Regions from separate parts of the Homo sapiens genome. Here regions 2 and 3 are each linked to region 1. The links are contacts of gene promoters, found by promoter capture Hi-C in blood cells and fetal thymus (Javierre and others, 2016). All regions are on one chromosome and are shown on one strand. Each heading gives the region's core, a stretch centred on a gene start or on the middle of the fragment in contact. The rest is flanking DNA. Distances are from core to core; before and after follow the strand shown. Region 1 holds the start of CCDC126 (coiled-coil domain containing 126). Region 2 overlaps PALS2 (protein associated with LIN7 2, MAGUK p55 family member). Region 3 has its middle 4.2 kb from the start of PALS2.

Region 1 (3,015 bases), core at 251-2,750:
ACCTCCTGGGCTCAAAGTGATCCTCCTGCCCCCAGCCTCTTGAGTAGCAGGGACTATAGGTGCATGCCACCACAACTGGCTGACTTTGGTATTTTTTTGGGGGGTACAGATGGGGTTTTGCCATGTTGCCCAGGCTGGTCTTGAACTCCAGGCTCAAGCAATCCACTTGCCTCAGCCTCCCGAAGTGCTGAGATCATAGGCATGGGCCACCGTGCCTAGTCTATAATAAAGCTTGTTATCCGGTAGCACAAGTTTTCCTCCTCCCACTCCTTCTCCTCTTCTTTTTTTTTCTTCCTCCTCTTCCTCATGAATGCTTGTCTTTGCTCTTCCATAACATTTTGAATTAGCTTGTCAAGTTTCTCACACATACACAGAAATTTATTGAGATTTTGTTGGGAATTGCACTGGCTCTGTAGGTAGGTTTGGAGAGACTTGGCATTTTTCAGTATTGACTCTTCCAATTTATGAACATGTTACATCTTTATTTAGGTCTTCTTCAGTGTCTTCCAATGTTTTCTTCAGGCAGGTTTTGCATTTCTTTGATCGATTTATTCCTAGGTACTTGATATTTGTTTGGAGCTGTTGGAAATGGTATCTTTAAAAAAATTATCTTTTTTACTAGCATATATAAATAAATATTGATTTTTTAAAATATGATTTTTGTATCTATTAACCTTGTTAAAAACTTTTATTGTTAACAGTTTATCTGCAGATTGTTTTGAAGTGCCACAAACAATTTTTTTTTTTTTTTGAGACGGAGTTCTGCTCTTGTTGCCCAGGCTGGAGTGCAGTGGCGCGATATCAGCTCACTGCAACCTCCGCCTCCTGGGTTCAAGCAATTCTCCCGCCTCAGCTCCCCGAGAGGCTGGAATTACAGGCGTCCGCCACCTCGCCCTGCTAAGTTCGTATCTGTAGTAGAGACGGGGTTTCACCATGTTGGCCAGGCTGGTCTCGAATTCCCGACCTCAGGTGATCCTCCCGTCTTGGCCTCACAAACTGCTGGGATTACAGGCATGAGCCAACGGCGCCCGGCCTCCACGTACATAATTACATAATCTATGAAAAAATAATTTTGTTTCTTCCTATTTAATCTTCAATCCTTTTATTTTTCTTGCCTCACTCCACTGGCTAAGGACCTTTGGCTTCAATAATGGGTAGTCTCATCTGTAGCACACTTAATCATCACTAAGCTTTCCCAGCCTCAGGTCAATAGTATTAGGAGGTTGGTTCCTCACCGGAGGGTCGGGAACAAGACGCCAGAGCCCTTCTTCCAGCGCCTGCAGCGAGTTAAGGCCGAGGGTATGCCTCTGGCGGGCTCATCTTCCAACACAGAAGACCCCGCCGCCCTCTCTGGTTGCCGCGCAGCTGCGTCGTTCTGACCCAGGGTAGGTGCAGGGCGGCTGGAAGCACGTGCCGCCGCTTCCTCATTCTGGGACTACATCCCCCACAATGCCGCGCGCCGCGGGCGGCTGGCCCCCGAGTGCGGGAAGGGCCGGCAGGGAGGCGGAGCGGAAGCCGAGTGCGAGGGACGAGCGGAGTAAAATCTCCACAAGCTGGGAACAAACCTCGTCCCAACTCCCACCCACCGGCGTTTCTCCAGCTCGATCTGGAGGCTGCTTCGCCAGTGTGGGACGCAGCTGACGCCCGCTTATTAGCTCTCGCTGCGTCGCCCCGGCTCAGAAGCTCCGTGGCGGCGGCGACCGTGACGAGAAGCCCACGGCCAGGTAATGAGTAAGGGGCGAGTCCGCCAGCCGGGCCCGCACCTCTCGCGCGCCCCTCAGCCTAGCCGGCCGCTCCTCCCCCGCCGCGCCCCCGTCCCCGGTCCCCGCCCCGCTAGGGCCGCTGCTGCGGAAACCCGGCTTAGGAACGGGCCGGCAGCCTCCGGCCGCGGCCGGGAAGGCTCTTTGTCCCTTCCTTTGGGCCGCGTCTCTGCCCCTCCGCGTCTGACAGCCGCGGCGCCTCGGCTCGGGCGGAGAGCCGAGCGTGGCTGGGGCTGCGCGAGTCGAGCGGGGCGGGCTTGGTCCGGAGCTGCGGGATGTAGATCCCGGGCGGCACCGCACTCACTTCTTTTTCTGTTTTTGACAGCTCAGTTCTCTTCTACTTTGGGAGAGAGAGAAAGTCAGATGCCCCTTTTAAACTCCCTCTTCAAAACTCATCTCCTGGGTGACTGGTAAGGATGAACTTAAACTGCCGTGTTGATTGTTGACTGTGACGGTAATGAGAATGGCTCAGCCAGCTAGGGTTCGAATCCTGCCTGGGTTTCTCTCACTGCCTGCCTTGGTGATCTTGGTTACTTAAAGGCTCTAAGCTTGAGTTTTCTCATCCATCAAAACACACACCTGTAAGTGGTTAGAATTAGGAATATAGACCTATAACGTCATTAGTTCTTCATTTGATGAAAAGATCCTTTGTGATACTTTCATTAGCTATGACTGAAGTGACCGAAGTGGCCTCTGGACTTGAGTTTTGTGCTTTTGTTTGTTTAATCATCCTGGGTTGTGTGTTCTTCACTTTATCTTAAACCTAACCAAAGGATTCATTAAAATATGCCGTCTTCCTAATTTTTGCTGTTTTAAGATGGCTGAGAATGTTCTTAGGAAATTGATGACTCTGCTTTTCTGTGGATCAGCTTCAGAGGTACAAGTATTCACCTCTCCCCTCCCCCTCAGGTGTGTCCTTTGGGAATCCTTAGAGGCGCTAAGTGTTTGTTTCGTCAGAGTAGGCATCCAGGTATTTTACAGTCCTGCCTCTGGGCTTCACCATATTTAACCTGGGTCAACTTTTTTCTACATCTGTCTGCATCTTCTCACTGATTAATAATTTCTCACTCTAAAATGTGTTGCAAAAATACTTGTTTTGAGGAAAATGTTTCTATGTTGGTGTTATTTAGTGCAGTGTAGGACAGAGAGTAATGGCTACGGAAATAGGAGTCCTTAGTTTTGTCCTTGCTCTGTCACTATCTGTGTAACCTGAGATTACTTTGTGGTCCTCAATGTCCTCATCTCTAAAATAGTG
Region 2 (3,015 bases), core at 222-2,721, 990 kb after region 1:
AGTGATATACTCTGGAGCTGTACCACTGAACCATTCCACCCCACCACTGCAACTCTATATGGTTATTTTTTTGGGTCTTGACTCCTTTCTTGGGCTTTTTGTCAGCCATGGAAAGCATTACTGTTGCAGCTGCTGCTTCTCGAAAGAAGTTTCAGGTACCTCATGTATGTGCACACAACCAGCATTAGTAAGTAAGCCTGTTTTAATTCTGGAGATATTTTACCTAAGAAATATTTAAGTGTGTGAAGAGACTACTTTTCTGAGTGTAGAAATTTCAGGGCAGTCAAATGCATTTCTGTATTGTTAATGCTCTGAACAAGCTAGTGTACCTGGAGGGAGGAATTTATGTTGGTTAATGAGTAACATAGTTCTCTCATCCCATTACTTATTTATGATCAATTTATTTTTAATTAAGCTTTTAAAATTATTAATGCTACATGACATGCAAAGTTAAAATCAGCATGGAAGAATGAATGTACCATGAAAGTTAAAGGTTTCTATCCCTACTCTTACTTCATAGAGTTAATCATGGTTAGTAGTTTCAGATTTAGTTATATTAGTAAAGTGGTTCTCAATTCATGACTGGCATTTTTGGCAGTACTATACTTTGCAATGCAGGATTGTCCTGACCTGAACACTACTCAGTGTTTAGTGTCCCTTAATATTTGGTTTTCTACCACAGTTACTGAGACAATCAAAAATGGCCTAGTACATTTCCAAATGCTCACTGGGGAGAGGTGGTATGCTAATTTTAAAAAACATACATCTTAGAAAGCATATGTTTATGTTTTCAATTTCACACAGTAAGTATTGACTCTAGTATAAAAGAATATTTAAGTGCGCACAGACTTCTTGAGGGAGGCCCAGAGAAAGTCCACTTGGGAGGAACTGTGCTTACTTCTAAAGTCTTAGATGATAAGATTTTTCAATCTTACCTGCTTTCTTTCCTGATAGTCTTACTTTCTTGTGTTTTCAGCTACCTGTCTTTTTGTTACTGTTTGATGATTTTTGAATTGTGTGCTCTTGCTTCGCTGGGTTTTATTGGAGGAAATTCTGTGCAGCCCAGTTAGAGGACACATTCTTTCCAAGGTTTGCCAAGGCTTTTCTTTGGCACCTGTGGAAGCCACTGACCCAAGACCACTTCGTAGTTTCTCTGCTTGGGGTGTTCTGAACTAGGCAGGTAGGTATATTTGGAACCCTGAATCCTTGAGAGTAGGCTGTGATTACTAATTCTCAGGTGATATTTTTTTCTGCTAATATGGAGTCCAATCTGAGACAGGCCAACTTCCTTATTGTCTTCCTTGGCCAACAGGCATGTTTTTATTAGACTACTCTTACAAAGTAGGGGTTAGTCCTATAAGGTCTCAGCTTCATGTGGGAAGGTCTAAGTTGCATTTTTCATCTTGAACAGGCCAGGGCCTAAATGGCAGCTTCTGAACTCCTGGTTACTGAAATCCTAAACACCCCAGGGCAGTCATAACTTCAGTACCTACTTACTAGTTTGTTTTTTCCCCTTCATATTGGCTCACAGGGATATTCTTGGGGACTTTTTTTTTTTTTTTGAGGGGATGTTTTCAGTATTTTATTTTGCATTTTTAGATGTTTTGTGAGAGAATTATTTTCAGATTTTCAAGGGTACCTTCTTTGCCAAACCAGCAAGCCTTTCTTATCTGTTTTCTAACTTCTAAGCAGTTCCTAAACTTCTGGTTTGCTAATCTCTTTCTCTTTTATTTTTGTCTCACCTCCCCTCCAGTATTAGTGCTGTTTTATTCTTTTTTAAAATTACATACCTGTTTTGTCATTTCAGTGGGACCTCAGGAGGGAGGGAACATAGGCATGTGTGTTCAGTCTTCCACTTTAACTGGAAGTGTGTCTAATAGTTTTGAGGTATACTATGTCTATTAGGACCAACTGACCTTAGGAAAAATCAATGTAAATACCTTTCCATTTAACTGTCATTTTAAGTTTGAATTTAAAAAGCATAGTCTTTGGCTGTAAAAGAGGGACAGGGTCAGGAATGGAGGATGACATTCAGACCATTATGCAGTTGAGCAAGGCCTCACTGAGATAGGGGGCAGTGTGTAGCTTGACATACGTGGGCTCTTACCATAAAGTCTAGCTATATAAAGCAAATCACATTACAATGATGAGAAGCCAGAATTTTAAAATTTCATCCAATGAGTATTTATTAAATGTGATGTGTCTGGAGTAATACTAAGAATTAGAGTACAAAAATAAATAAAATGCCATATCCTCAGTGAACCCACTAATTTTGTGTTAGAGATAGACATGTAAATTAAAATAGTTCTCATTATTCAAGATAGTTATGGTGTATAAAGTCTCTGCAAATGCAGAATTATCAAATGCTGAGCCGTGTTGCTTCTAGGGGAAATGCAGGGTTAGGTTCCTGCAAGCCTTTAGTCACAGTATGTTCATCAACTGGTCAATATATAGCCTTTTTTATCTGTATTTCTCTTTAAAGATACTTTATTATATATTATTGATTCATTAACATTGTACTCATAGCCAAGCTTACCATATCTTATGCCTGAACAAAGCTTGTCTAATATGTACATTTTTCTGTAAAGCACACCAGAGCCTTTTCATGATAAAGAAACACTAGATAGCACTTCAGTGCTATGATTGGGGACCATTTTGTGAAATCACAAACAACAGAAAAATGCAAAAAAAAAAGTGGCACAAAATAAACTATGAAAAGGATACTTGTTTTTAGTATGAGAGCCGAAACAAGAAAGCAGAGTGTTGCTTTCTTCCACCTCAGCTGGGACTGTGCAATGTTGGGTGACTCAAATTTTTCACCACTCTGCATATCCACTAATGACCACAAAAGCTCTGTAAGTATCGATTATTGGATTAAAAGTAAATTTTAGCAAGTAGGCAAATTCGCAAACACAGAATAATGAGAATCAACTGTACTGTATAATGTGGTAAGTGCTGTATATTGTAAATCTGCTAGGTTGGGTCAGGGAAGGCTTCATTTGAGACAATTAAGAT
Region 3 (3,015 bases), core at 153-2,652, 970 kb after region 1:
AATAAATGAGCAGCTACTATGTGCAGTACTATGCCAAGTGCTACAGGCATTCCTGTACACATCACCCTGGATTTTACCTGCAAGAAAGAAGGGGATGGGGCTGAGTGGCGGTAAAAAGAATGCAAAGATAAATATTTGAAAACATAAATGATGCTTTTATGAAGCAGAATAGGAAAGGAGCCATAAGATGCAATTAAAGTGCTACAGGAGTTCAAAGGAGAGCAATTACACTAGTCCCTTCTTATCCAAGAGGGCATCCATTCCAAGCCCCCCAGTGAATACCTGAAACCATGGATAGTACTGCACTGTACATATTTTATATATATATATATATATATATATATATGTACTATGGTTTGTAGACATACATACCTATGATAAAGTTTTTAATTTATACATTAGGCACGTTAAGAGATTAACAATAACTAATAATAAAATAGAACAATTATAACAATATACCTTCATAAAAGTTACGTGAACATAGTGTCTCTCTTTCTCAAAATATCTTATCATACTGTACTGAGGAAAACTGAAACCTTGGAAAGTGAAACCATGAATAAGGGGGGACTGGGGGACTACTGTACCTCTGTTTGAGGTGAGGCAGAAAGGGTTTCATGGAAAAGGAGGGTGTGAGATGAGCACACATGCTTGGATTTTGGCCAGCAGAGATGGCAGAAGGCAAAAACAGGGGTAGAAACATAAAGATACAAGATATGACTAACTAGAATATCCAAACAGGGAAGCTTTGACTGTCATTGTGAATGACCTTGTAAATGGGGTCCCGTAGGCAGTAAGGAGACAGGGATAAAATGACTGGCACCTGGCAGTCAGGGCAAGGAGGCCCTGAGGCAGGGAGATGAGTTAGGAGACTCTGTAGGACTAAAGCAAATAAACAAGAGAATCCATTCCTATAATTTTGAGAAAGTGGGCTGCAAGGGATTTGAGTATGTGTTTGTTCAGGAGATGGTAAAAGGAGGTAAAGGAAAGGAAGGTGCCAGAAAAACCAGCAGGAGCAACCCCGTGAATAGCTTATCTAGATGGAAATTTTCAACAGCGAGTTGAAAATATGCCTCAAGGGAGAATAGATACAGATGTGGAAGCATTGGTGCTAGAGTCCTAAGGATCCCTGGGATTCTCAAGATAAACAGTACTATCTGCTCTTTTTAAGTTTCTCCTCAAAAATTTATTTCATTCTTAGTGGAACATTTTTCTTTAGGAAGTAGGAGGAGATAACACAGCAAAGTAAGGGTCAGAGATGGAACAGTCAGAGAGGTCGAAAGAGCTCCCAGGTGGTATGGTATCAGAGAAGTTAAAGGAAAAGAGAGGTTTAGAGAGTGAGAGTACGAGAGATTAACCTCCTCAAACACTGCAGAGAAGTTCAATGGCATGAACACTAAGCAAAGACCTTCCCCACTAATTCTGTCATATACTATTAAGACACCTGGCATAGCACTTATTATGTAATATTTTGCTTATTATTCTTCGCCATTAGGTAGGGACTACTTGATATTGTTAATTTTTTTATTTTCATTATGCTTCACTAGTAAATGAGTGACTGAATGGATGAACACATGAATGAAAATGTTAATTGTGATGGAAATAGTAGTTTCAGCAGAGAAGTGGGTGTGGAAGCCCAATTCCAATGCCTAAAATAAACAAATAATGGTAAGAAAAGTCAAGGAGATATGCTGAGATATATAGTTTTCTTTTTTAAGGAAAAACCAAACAACCCCAAAACTCAAGTTCTTATAATGTTTGGCTTTAATTGTGATGATTAAAAAAAAAAAAAGAACTGCCATCGTATCAGGAAATGTTTTTTCAGACAGCTAGTTTAGAGGAGAAAGTTCTGCTAAGACATTTCTGTTTGAGACAGTTGACCCAGTGGGACTTTTGGAAAGATTTAGATTATAAGAAAAGCCTCTGACAAATATCTATGAAAGCAAGATTAAAACAATAATGTACACAATCAACTGAGGTCCAGCGGTTTGTAAACCAGTGCCAGTCGGGATGCTCAGAGCTGGGAACGGTGATCTTCAGGCAGCCAGGTGAGACTAATCTGGAGAAGCTTTAGGAAGGAGATAAATTTAAGCTGTTTTGAAAGGGGACTATTCTAGTCAATTGGCAAAGAGTCTTAAAGCACAGGATTAGGAATTTTAATTTGATTACTCGAGGTAATTTGGAGCTACCCCACTGTTGTGAAGATTTGGTATAAATGTTGTTTGGAAGATGATTCATTTCCATAGTTCTTAACTCTGGCTGCGTATTAGAGTTATCTGGAGAGCTCTGAAAAAATCCTGGCACCCAGGCTGTGCTCCAGAGCAATTAAGTCTGGGATGGCATCAAAGCATCAGTGCTTTGTTTTGTTTCTTAAAGTTCTCTGGGTGATTTCAATAAAGAGCCAAAAATTAAGAAGCACTGCTCTGAGTATAGGATAAATTGCAAGGAAGCAAGAGAGAGGCTAGAATTAGAAAGGTTAGCAAGGAGGCTGGAAATTGGAATCTGACCTAGCTTTGTGAGCAGAGATAAAAGGAGTGAAGCTAAATAAAGTATTCTGAAGGAAAACTTGGTTGGACTTTGTGATGCATGCCAGTTGCATTTTTAAATAAAGCTATCCTCCAGGAGTGTCACTGCTTTTACTATGATGGATTAGTTGAAAAACAAGTACACAGGATTTGCTTTTGCTAAAATTCGGGGCTATTAGCAAAATTCTCAATTTCTGTAGGAGCAAAGCAGGTCAGAAGAGAAAAGAAAATGTAATCACATTAAAAGTGTATGTTGTTTACATTTGAAGGAGGAAACAAAATTGAGTGATGGATGCTCCTGAATTAAGAATCAAAATTCAAATTTTAAATTGAATTACCGTTGGGAGATACTGGGCTGTGGTAAAATTATGATCCCTTTAGAGTAACCTTGAAGGAAATGAAAAGTCAGACTATTAAGGACACTGAAGAGAAAGATCCACCATCATTCTCAATCATATCATTCCCCTTTCTTGGAATGAAGAATTTGTAACCG

What was found. The method cuts DNA at HindIII sites, captures the fragments that hold promoters and counts their contacts. A CHiCAGO score of 5 or more calls a contact.
Region 2: a fragment that was not itself captured here is called in contact with the fragment with the promoter of CCDC126 in region 1 in 1 of 17 cell types (naive CD8 T cells); the score reaches 5.4 in naive CD8 T cells.
Region 3: a fragment that was not itself captured here is called in contact with the fragment with the promoter of CCDC126 in region 1 in 2 of 17 cell types (total B cells and total CD8 T cells); the score reaches 6.0 in total B cells.

Annotation. Positions count from the first base shown.
Region 1 is chr7:23,595,882-23,598,896 of GRCh38, forward strand. It overlaps CCDC126 (coiled-coil domain containing 126), which reads left to right and starts at 1,501. Exons shown (of 4, transcript NM_138771.4): 1 at 1,501-1,724; 2 at 2,086-2,170. It overlaps LOC105375187 (a long non-coding RNA gene), which reads right to left and starts at 1,444. Exons shown (of 2, transcript XR_927098.2): 1 at 1,236-1,444. RefSeq lists a silencer at 1,743-1,982. The HindIII fragment of the contact is 1,118 bases long and covers 1,189-2,306 here.
Region 2 is chr7:24,589,299-24,592,313 of GRCh38, forward strand. All of the region lies in intron 1 of PALS2 (protein associated with LIN7 2, MAGUK p55 family member), which reads left to right. It also overlaps the pseudogene SUMO2P14. Among named protein-coding and RNA genes, the nearest start is that of PALS2, 17 kb to the left of the region's middle. The HindIII fragment of the contact is 2,116 bases long and covers 414-2,529 here.
Region 3 is chr7:24,567,783-24,570,797 of GRCh38, forward strand. No RefSeq gene overlaps it. Among named protein-coding and RNA genes, the nearest start is that of PALS2, 4.2 kb to the right of the region's middle. The HindIII fragment of the contact is 1,322 bases long and covers 742-2,063 here.